2 separate regions of the Homo sapiens genome follow, and region 1 is linked to region 2. Evidence: promoter capture Hi-C in human tissues and cell types (Jung and others, 2019). All regions are on one chromosome and are shown on one strand. Each heading gives the region's core, a stretch centred on a gene start or on the middle of the fragment in contact. The rest is flanking DNA. Distances are from core to core; before and after follow the strand shown.

Region 1 (5,497 bases), core at 2,860-5,359, 50 kb before region 2:
TAGCAATACTGGTATCCAATAAAATGGATTTTAAGGATTATTATTTAATGATAACAACAAACTATGTGAAGAAAATGTAAGTCTCTTACAATGTTTACATTTGTAAACATTGACCATATGGTAGTCACTAACTACATATGACTATTGAGCACTTGAAATGTGACTATTCCAAATTGAGATATGCTGTAAATGTCAGATATATGCTAGATTTTGAAGACTTAGCAAGAAAAAACTATGTCAAATAGTTAAGTCATAATCTTATATCGAATATATGTTGAAAGGATAATATTTGTGATATGTCTGGTTAAACAATGCCTTAGTAAAATTAATTTCAGTGGTTTCTTTTTGCTGGTTTCTAACATGCCCACTAGAAAAGTTTAAATTATGTATGTGGCTTACATTATATTTCTATTGGACAATTCTGTATTAGACCATCAAGGTAACCTATTAAGAATTTTTTAAGTAGTGTCTTCATAAGAAACATTCTTATTGGACTTAAGATTGTTGACCAGGCGCCTCTGCCTCTGCCTCTGCCTCTGCCTCTGCCTCTGCCTCTGCCTCTGCCTCCTCTGCCTCTGCCTCCTCTGCCTCTGCCTCCTCTGCCTCTGCCTCCTCTGCCTCTGCCTCTGCCTCTGCCTCTGCCTCTGCCTCTCCCCACGGTCTCCCTCTCATGCAGAGCCGAAGCTGGACTGTACTGCTGCCATCTCGGCTCACTGCAACCTCCCTGCCTGATTCTCCTGCCTCAGCCTGCCGAGTGCCTGCGATTGCAGGCGCGCGCCGCCACGCCTGACTGGTTTTGGTGGAGACCGGGTTTTGCTGTTTGGCCGGGCCGGTCTCCAGCCCCTAACCGCGAGTGATCCGCCAACCTCGGCCTCCCGAGGTGCCGGGATTGCAGACGGAGTCTCGTTCACTCAGTGCTCAATGGTGCCCAGGCTGGAGTGCAGTGGCGTGATCTCCGCTCACTACAACCTACACCTCCCAGCCGCCTGCCTTGGCCTCCCAAAGTGCCGAGATTGCAGCCTCTGCCCGGCCGCCACCCCGTCTGGGAAGTGAGGAGTGTCTCTGCCTGGCCGCCCATCGTCTGGGATGTGAGGAGCCCCTCTGCCTGGCTGCCCAGTCTGGAAAGCGAGGAGCGTCTTCACCCGGCCGCCATCCCATCTAGGAAGTGAGGAGCGCCTCTTCCCAGCCGCCATCACATCTAGGAAGTGAGGAGCGTCTCTGCCCGGCCGCCCATCGTCTGAGATGTGGGGAGCGCCTCTGCCCCGCCGCCCCATCTGGGATGTGAGGAGCGCCTCTGCCCGGCGAGACCCCATCTGGGAGGTGAGGAGCGTCTCTGCCCGGCCGCCCCGTCTGAGAAGTGAGGAGCCCCTCCGCCCGGCAGCTGCCCTGTCTGAGAAGTGAGGAGCCTCTCCGCCCGGCAGCCACCCCATCTGGGAAGTGAGGAGCGTCTCCGCCCGGCAGCCACCCCGTCCGGGAGGGAGGTGGGGGGGGTCAGCCCCCCGCCTGGCCAGCCGCCCCGTCCGGGAGGGAGGTGGGGGGGTCAGCCCCCCGCCCGGCCAGCCGCCCCGTCCGGGAGGTGAGGGGCGCCTCTGCCCGGCCGCCCCTACTGGGAAGTGAGGAGCCCCTCAGCCCGGCCAGCCACCCCGTCCGGGAGGGAGATGGGGGGGTCAGCCCCCCCACCCGGCCAGCCGCCCCGTCCGGGAGGTGAGGGGCGCCTCTGCCCGGCCGCCCCTACTGGGAAGTGAGGAGCCCCTCTGCCCGGCCACCACCCCGTCTGGGAGGTGTGCCCAACAGCTCATTGAGAACGGGCCAGGATGACAATGGCGGCTTTGTGGAATAGAAAGGCGGGAAAGGTGGGGAAAAGATTGAGAAATCGGATGGTTGCCGTGTCTGTGTAGAAAGAAGTAGACATGGGAGACTTTTCATTTTGTTCTGCACTAAGAAAAATTCCTCTGCCTTGGGATCCTGTTGATCTGTGACCTTACCCCCAACCCTGTGCTCTCTGAAACATGTGCTGTGTCCACTCAGGGTTAAATGGATTAAGGGCGGTGCAAGATGTGCTTTGTTAAACAGATGCTTGAAGGCAGCATGCTCGTTAAGAGTCATCACCAATCCCTAATCTCAAGTAATCAGGGACACAAACACTGCGGAAGGCCGCAGGGTCCTCTGCCTGGGAAAACCAGAGACCTTTGTTCACTTGTTTATCTGCTGACCTTCCCTCCACTATTGTCCCATGACCCTGCCAAATCCCCCTCTGTGAGAAACACCCAAGAATTATCAATAAAAAAATAAATTAAAAAAAAAAAAAAAAAAAAGATTGTTGACCAGGTGCAGTGGCTCACACCTGGAATCCTAGCACTTTGGGAGGCTGAGGCGGGTGGATCACCTGAGGTCAGGAGTTCGAGACCAGCCTGACCAGTATGGTGAAACCCCATCTCTACTAAAAGTACAAAAATTAGCCAGGTGTGGTGACGTGTGCCTGTAGTCCTAGCTACTTGTGAGGCTGAGACAGGAGAATTGCTTGAACCTGGGAGGCAGAGGTTGCAGTGAGCCAACATCGTGCCATTGCACTCCAGCCTGGGTGACAGCAGGACTCCAACTCAAAAAAAAAAAAAAAAGTCAGTTTTGACTTTTTTTACCACATGGACCCTTCTATGGTTTGGGCACTGAAACTAAAGCAAATGGTGGAAGAAGAATTGGTACTGTACAGAAACATTTTCAGAGAAATGAGAAAGGAAAAAAGTCAAACAAAAATGATGATATATTTCCATAAAGTTACACCGAGTGTGCCTGCCTCTCCCGCTGGCCCTTCCACCTTCTCATCCTCTTCTGCCTCTGCCACGCTGAGACAGCAGGACCAATCCCTCCCCTTCCTCCTCCTCCTCAGCCCACTCAGCATGGAGACAATGAGGATGAAGACCTTTATGATGATCCACTTCCACTTAATGAGCAATAAATTTATTTTTTCCTTCAAAAAAAAAAAAAAGAAACATTCTTATTATAATACAAAATAACTTGAAAAAATAAGAGGGAGATGACTACAAAATTATTAACAATATCAGAATTAGGTAACAGCCTTATAGACAGTCACTGCATCAAAGGAGAAATTTAAAAACTGATATTTAAATTATCTAAAAGCAATGAAAAGAACAGCAATTTTTACCAAAACCTAAGTAAAAGAAATCTTTTACTCGAGCCCTCAATGCTTCATTAAGAAAAATCAAATGTAAAGAAGTGTAATAGTCCTCTAACGAAGTTGCAAAAGCAGCTACAAATCAACCAAAAGAAACTAGGATGAAATCATTAAGGCAAAAATAAGCTGCAATTAACGAAACGGAAAATGAAACAGTGAAAAGAATATACAAATTCCACAGTTATTTCTTTGAGAAGACCAATCAAATAATTCAACCTATCCATAAACTTTAAATCAAGGAGAAAGAGAGGGAGAAGAAACGTAAGATTTCAACTTTAGTCTTGTATATTTGTAGAAAAATTTCAAATCTAAGGGTCAACCAAACCAAGTAAGTAAGGGTGACAAAATAACAAAGGAAATCAATGTAATAAAAATGATAATGGCGTGTCTGTCACAGATAATACATGATAAAGATTTTGGTGTAAATGATCTTTCATGCACTCAGTAAATTGGCACGAACATGGCAAAGGTCTCCAGGTGACACATCTTGTCCTGCAGGAGTCTTAAACTCTACTAATGATGATGATAGCTCTTCCTCTAAGAGGCCTAAGGTGATCTGTGAAAATTCTTCTTTATTCACTTGACCCAGAAACACCACAAAATCATGCAATTCAAGAGGTTTCAGTTTTCCTGTTCACTTAAAGGACATTCGTGAAACTACCCAGGCCATCAATGTATGCATATACAAAGAGCCACCAAGTGTCTGAAGGATGTCACTTTATGGAAGCAGTGTGCACCATTTCGATATTGCAATGGAGGGGCTGGCAAGTGTGCCCAGGGCCGAGCAGTGGGGCTGGACACAAGGTCGGTGGCCCAAATAGGGTGCTGGATTTTTGCTGCATGTGCTTTAAAATGCAGAGAATAATGCTAAATATAACAATTTAGATGTAGATTCTCTCATCATTAAGCTTATCCAAGTAAACAAAGCATCCAAGATGAGCCATGCGTCTTGCAGAGCTCATTATTGGATTAACCCTTACATGACCCCCCACTGCCACATTCAAGATGATCTTTACTGATAAGGAACAAATTGTTCCTAAACCTGAGGATGAGGTTGCACAGAAGAAAAAGATATCCCAGAAGAAACTGAAGAAAAAATTTACCTATGGCTCTGGAAGAAATTCAGCATAAAATAAATGCAATTAAACTAAAATAATAAGAATGATAACAGATAATATTTATTGGGTGCTCACTATAACAACATTAAAACCACAATGCTTAGGGTACCTGTCCTAGGTCACATAGCTAGAAAAATGAGAGTGAAGATTTGAGCCAGTGCAGTTCAGTCTAAAGAATATATTCATAGTGAAAAACCACAAGAAAAGAGCCACAATCACTATTCAAATGCCTTCCTAATTTTCCACATTTTTACAAAGCTAAAGAACATATATATTTTTTACAATTCAGTAACTACATTGCATAAGGGGAAAAGAAAACCAGTAGAACAAATATCTTGTGGTTTGATCAAAAACAAAAATAAAGTTTAGTGTCCTTTGCAATAATACCTACACTAATAAAAAGAAGTACAGAAATAAGAATACAAAGGACCTAAACTCATGGAAGTTCATATAAATTCAGTGAATATGACAAAAAAGGGCTCAATTCTCTCACAAGAAAGATGGCTCCCTCACTGGGCTTGGTGGCTCTTGCCTGTAATCCCAGCACTTTGGGAGGCCGAGGCGGGCAGATCACATGAGGTCAGGAGTTCAAGACCAGCCTGGCTAACATTGCGAAACCTCATCTCTACTAAAAAAAAAAAAAAAAAAATTGCCAGGAGCAGTGGCACATGCCTGCAGTCCCAGTTACTCAGGAGACTGAGGTGGGAGAATTTCTTAAACCCGGGAGGTGAAGGTTGCAGTGAGCGGAGATCCGGCCACTGCCCTCCAGCCTGGGCGACAGAACGAGGCTCAGTCTCAAGAAAAAAAAAAAAAAAAGGATGGCTCCCTTAATGGATTTAGAAACCAAATTCATTGGTGTGTGAATTTGGTTTTTCACATCCCAGAGTACTATTTCAATGAAACCCAAATATTCTGTATTAATGAAAGTCACCTCTGAAATTTTTGGAAAAAGAATAGATCCCACTATAGAAACTTGGAGTGGGATAGGGTGAGTTTGGTGATATGATCAGCTTCACCTGAGAAACACTTCCCTTCTTGGACACATGTCCATTCATCACTGGTCCCAGCTTCACTGGGCTTATAGATTCACGGTCTTATCTCCTCCCTAGTCCCTTCCACCCACTCTTGATAATTTCAGCATTCCAAGTAGAAGACCCTTTTGACATGCAACCATCACCATACCTTC
Region 2 (5,323 bases), core at 553-3,052:
AAAATAATGAAATGCTGAGGAATAAATGTTAATAAGAAACAGAAAATGCTTATATAGTGAAAAATTTTATTTATGTATATAAAACAAGATCTGAATAAATAGTGAGACATACATATTCCTGAACAGGAAGACACAATAGCAAAAAAATGCCAATCCTTCTCAATTCATGGAAATCCTGTAACCCTACATGTAGGGCTCTAGTCAACTAAGATAAAAGCAAGAATATGGAAATATATTCATGTAAGGAAAGTATTAAAGAGTGTTTACACGGCCCTATTCATAAAGACAAAAAATGCAAAATGCCTAAATCTATATCAATATTAATTGGTTAAAAACTACATTGCATCCAAAGTAAAGTATTTTATGCAATTATTAATAGAACTTGTCAAATCTGTCTGTATTGGTCTATAAAGGTATTTATAATTTATTGGCAAGTGAAAAATGCAAAGAAAAGAAGAATATGTCCAGCCCAATACTAGATTTTATTTTAACAAAATAGGTGTGAGAATTTACATTAGATATTGTATATACCTAAAGTACTTTTTTAAAAACATTAAAAGAATGTTCACAAAACTAAGACCATTTCCTCTGGGGCGGGCATATAGAATTAACAAAAAAGGGAAGTTTCATTTCTTACTGTGGTTTTTGGTACTTTTCTAAACATGGTACTTAAAAATGTAGGCTGAATATGTTCCACAATTTTATAAGTTATAAATACATATCTTCAAGAAGGGCAGTTTTATAAAATTTGCTACTGACGAGTACACGCATTGGCACAAAATAATTTGTTAAACTGGAAAGAAATTTGAAATGAAACAAATGAAAATGTCAAATCACAGTTCAGTAAAGAATCCTTTTTTAATTTCCAAAGGTGAAGTATTCTTAAGGTGCTAAAGGAGAGATAACTTACCATAGGCAACGGCTTTCCCTGATGGCAGTTGATACCACCAATGAAGATCATGTTGGGCATCACGGGTTTGGGATAGTCCAAAACAAAGTCCGTTCGCAACAACCAAATTGATGTGTGGCTGTAGAGATCATACTCCGTAACAGGTGTTTGGAGAATTTCAGAGGCTATTTCTAGGGCATTTTTGAAAAAACGGTGGCATAATAAATGTTCCTCCAAGTGCATGATGTGGTTCCGTACTCTCTCCTTGAAAGTCATGGCATCTGAGAACCCTAAGAGAATTCTGGGGACATAGGAAAGAGGAGCAGGGCACTGTGCACCTTCTTCAAGATAGTGGCAAAGTATTCCCCTGGCGAAGACCACGGAGGGGAGGGAGAAATATTTGGCAACAATTAAGCCACAGTTATCAAAAGGATCGAGAAACACTGCATCAAAAGAACTCTCCTTTAAGTATTCTACTAATTTTTTGTCTTTAAACAAACTCCTGCAATTTGAAAAAAATAAGTCAAAAATGTCATTGTATGAACCCATTAATAGAGAATATATACTTCGTACTTGTGCTTTCCATTGAGCATGGGCAAAAGCCTTGAACTCCCGGTCCAGATCCTCCAGGGTATATGAAGTTGAATAAGTCTTCACTGTGCAATTCAGTGATCTTCCCAGTTGCCAACTCACCTCTGGCATGACTACAACCACCTCATGCCCCCTGAGAATGAGTTTCTCCACCACCGACCTCATGGTGAACCAGTGGCTCCCATCCATGGGCACTACCAGTAGCTTCCCTGCCTCGGCAAAGCCACAGGTCAGCAGCAGACACACACATAGAGGAAGGGGGCTGGTCCACCCTGTGCAAGCCATCAGAGAACTGCAGCTGAGAGCAAGCAGCTGGGAATCTAAGCTCCTATGATACAGTAGGTGGGAGAAATACCAGCACAAAACCTGACCCCAATAGAGGGCGTGTTTTTATCCTTTCATAAAAAAAAAATCAGTCACTGACAATGATTTACCCAAAAGAACAAGAATATATGAGTAGCTTTTGCTGAGATATCTATTTGTATGTTTTCCAGACAACAGTAGCTTATGGTCTTTGCCTTGGGGGCAGAACATGCCCTGTGCTGCAATGTTAAGTTTAGAAGCAGAATTATTAACCAATGCTTTTGGACCTTGAAGGTTCAGAAAGATAAAGTAAAAGTAAATTTGATTAAAGCTAATTTTTTTTGGAATTTGTCCCAGAGCAAAATTTAGATTTTACCTTTAGGCAACCAAATACTCTCTGTCCAGAGAAGATGGCAACTCATGCTCTAAGCAAAGAAAACAAGGCCCTTAGCACTGACCTCCTAACCTCCTAAATTGGGGCTCGCCTGTGTCTCTGCAATGCATACATATTGCTGCTTCTCTTCTTCCATTTCCAAACCCTGAGAAGCCTCTAAAATGCTGAAATGAGACTGACAACCCTGCTTCCATGGACCATACCAGGGACTTGATGGAAAGTAACCGTCTCCTATTTTAAATGGCTTTCCTAAGATACATCGCACGCAGTGGGAAGTTGCCCGCCCAATCCTTGCGAGAGCACTCTGCTGAGCTGCCTCTCAGTGACCGCTCAACTTGCACATTCTAAACACGCCATCACTCCAGTGCCCTCCTTCAGGAAAATATGTACTTGTCTCTCTCAGTCTGCTGAGCACTCCTTGAGGTCAGAGGTGATGTCAACTTTGTGTTTTCACCCTCCTTTCACAGTACCCATGCTATGCCTTTGACATAGTTTGTATGTTTGTATGTTTGGGTTTACAAATAGGACTGCCCCCATCCATAAGCCTGCTAGCCTCCAAGCCTTAAAGGGAAAAGATCAATACCCACTGCCAGTTTTTTTGTTGTACAAGAAGGCCTCGGCAAGAACACTTTTTCTGGATTGGTTCTATCATTACTTTGTCCCTGAAGTCAGGTAATATCTTGCCAGTAAGAGACGGTCTTTCAAAGTTCTTTTGATTTTTGGACAATGCCCCTAGCCACCCAGAACCCATGAGTTCAACACTGAAGGTGTCAAAGTGGTCTACTTGCCTGCAAACCCAACATCTCTAATTCAGCAACAAAAGGTGGGGGATATGGTCTTTCAAGATATGAATCTGTGAGAAATTCAAGAATGAATAGACACCACACCAGAGGAATCAACAGAAGATGACTTGATGGAGATGAGTGCTTTTGAATCAGTACCAGATACTAAAGAAGACATAGAAGAAGCCATGCCAGAAAACAAATTCCTATTAAACAGTTTGGCAAAGGCTTCCAATTATTAAGACTACTTTTGACTTATTTTACAACACAAACCCTTCCATGAATGGGCACTGAAACTAAAGCAAATGGGGAAGAAGGACTAGTACTGTAAAAAAGCATTTTCAAAGAATTGCAAAGGCAAAAAAGTCAAATAATAATTATGATGTAATTCTGTAAAGTTACACCAAGTGTACCTGTCTCTCCTCCTTCTTCCTCCACTTCTTCCCCCTCTGCCACCCCTGAAACAGCAAAACCAACCCACCTCTTCCTCCTTCTCAGCCTACTCAATGGAGGACAATCAAGAGGAAGACCTTTATCATGATCCACTTCCACTTAATGAATACTTAATTTTCTCTTCCTTAAGATTTTCTTAATAACATTTTCTTTTCTCTAGCTGACTTCATTATGATAATACAGTATATAACACATATAACATGCCAAATATGTGTTAAGCAACTGTTTCTGTTATTGGTAAGGCTTCTAGTGCACAGTAGGCTATTAATAGTTAAATTTTTAGGGAGTCAAAAATTCTATGTGTGCTGGGCGTGGTGGCTCACACCTGTAGTCCCAGCACTTTGGGAGGTCAAGGTGGGCGTATCACGGGAGGCCAGGAGTTGGAGACCAGCCTGGCCAACATGGTGAAACCCTATCTCTACTAAAAATGCAAAAAATTAGCTGCAGGTGGTGGTGCATGCCTGTAATCCCAGCTACTCTGGAGGCTGAGGCAGGAGAATCACTTGAACCCGGGAAGCGGAGGTTGCATTGAGCTGAGATCACGCCATTATACTCCAGCCCGGGCAAAACAGCACGACTCTGTCTCAAAAATAAAAAACAAAAAGAAACCCACAAAACCTTTCTATGCTAATTTTTTACTGCTCGGGGGTTGGTACCTCAATCCTCACATTCTTCAAGGGTCAAATGTACTAGCAATGAACAATTGAAAATTGGAATGAAAACAGCACCTAAATAGCATCAAAAATAAAAAATACTAACAGATAAATCTGACAAAAGATGTGAAAGATTGTACACTGAAAACAACAAAACATTGGTGAGAGACCTGAATAAATAGATATGTTCATGAATCAGAAAACTCAAAATTGTTAAAATGTTATTTTTCCTTAGTTGATCTATAAATTTAATACAACCCCAATCTAAATTCCAGCAGGCTATCTTTTTGTACAAATTGGCAAACTGATTCTAAAATTCATAGGGAAATGTAAAAGACCTACAATAGCAAAAATAACTTTTAAAAAATAGAAAAAAAAATGGAGAGCAATTATTACCTAATTTCAAGACTTATTACAAATCTATAGTAATCAAATATTTCACAAAAAGATCATTGGAACAGAATAGAATACCCAGAAATAGAAGTATGAGCAACCAAGTTTTTTCAAAGGTGCACAGGCAATTCTGTGGGGAAAAGATGACTCTTCAACAGTTGGGTATCCATTCGCAAGAAAGCGGGAAAACACATTACCTTGTGGTCTTCCTCCTAAAAACCTATAACCCCTGTGTTACCATAATCAAAACATCAGACAAACTCAAACTGAGGAACATTCTACAGAATACCTCACCAGAATTGCTCAAAACTGACAAAGTAATCAAAACCAAGGAAACTCTGAAAAACTGTCACAGGCTAGAGGAGATGAAACAAATGTGATGAGTAAATGTCATGCGGTATCCTGGATGGGATCCCAGAAAAGAACAAGGACATTAGGTAAAAATTAATGACATCTAAAGAAAACATAGACTTTGGTTCAACATAATGTGTCAGTGTTGATTAATGAGTTGTGATAAATGTACATAGGTGCTAGAGAAGATGTGGAGAAATAGGAACGCTTTTACCCTGTTGGTGGGAGTGTAAACTAGTTCAACCATTGTGGAAGACAGTGTGGCAATTCCTCAAGGATCTAGAACTAGAAATACCATTTGACCCAGCCATCCCATTACTGGGTATGTATCCAAAGGATTATAAATCATGGTACTATAAAGACACATGCACACGTATGTTTATTGGGGCACTATTCACAAAAGCAAAGACTTGGAAGCAACCCAAATGTCCATCAGTGGTAGACTGGATTAAGAAAATGTGGCACATATACACCATGGAATACTATGCAGCCATAAAAAAGGATGAGTTCATGT

Evidence for each region. The method cuts DNA at HindIII sites, captures the fragments that hold promoters and counts their contacts. A contact is called where the count stands out against the background at its distance.
Region 1: a contact is called between a fragment that was not itself captured here and the fragment with the promoter of UGT1A9 in region 2, in 1 of the 25 tissues and cell types used here (liver).

Annotation. Positions count from the first base shown.
Region 1 is chr2:233,720,335-233,725,831 of GRCh38, reverse strand. All of the region lies in intron 1 of UGT1A8 (UDP glucuronosyltransferase family 1 member A8), which reads right to left. All of the region lies in intron 1 of UGT1A10 (UDP glucuronosyltransferase family 1 member A10), which reads right to left. All of the region lies in intron 1 of UGT1A9 (UDP glucuronosyltransferase family 1 member A9), which reads right to left. The region is part of intron 1 of UGT1A7 (UDP glucuronosyltransferase family 1 member A7); the gene reads right to left. It also overlaps UGT1A6, UGT1A5, UGT1A4, UGT1A and the pseudogene RPL17P11. Among named protein-coding and RNA genes, the nearest start is that of UGT1A4, 4.3 kb to the right of the region's middle. The HindIII fragment of the contact is 5,054 bases long and covers 1,583-5,497 here.
Region 2 is chr2:233,668,377-233,673,699 of GRCh38, reverse strand. It overlaps UGT1A9 (UDP glucuronosyltransferase family 1 member A9), which reads right to left and starts at 1,802. Exons shown (of 5, transcript NM_021027.3): 1 at 911-1,802. The coding sequence starts at 1,765. All of the region lies in intron 1 of UGT1A8 (UDP glucuronosyltransferase family 1 member A8), which reads right to left. All of the region lies in intron 1 of UGT1A10 (UDP glucuronosyltransferase family 1 member A10), which reads right to left. It also overlaps UGT1A. The HindIII fragment of the contact is 24,288 bases long and covers 1-5,323 here.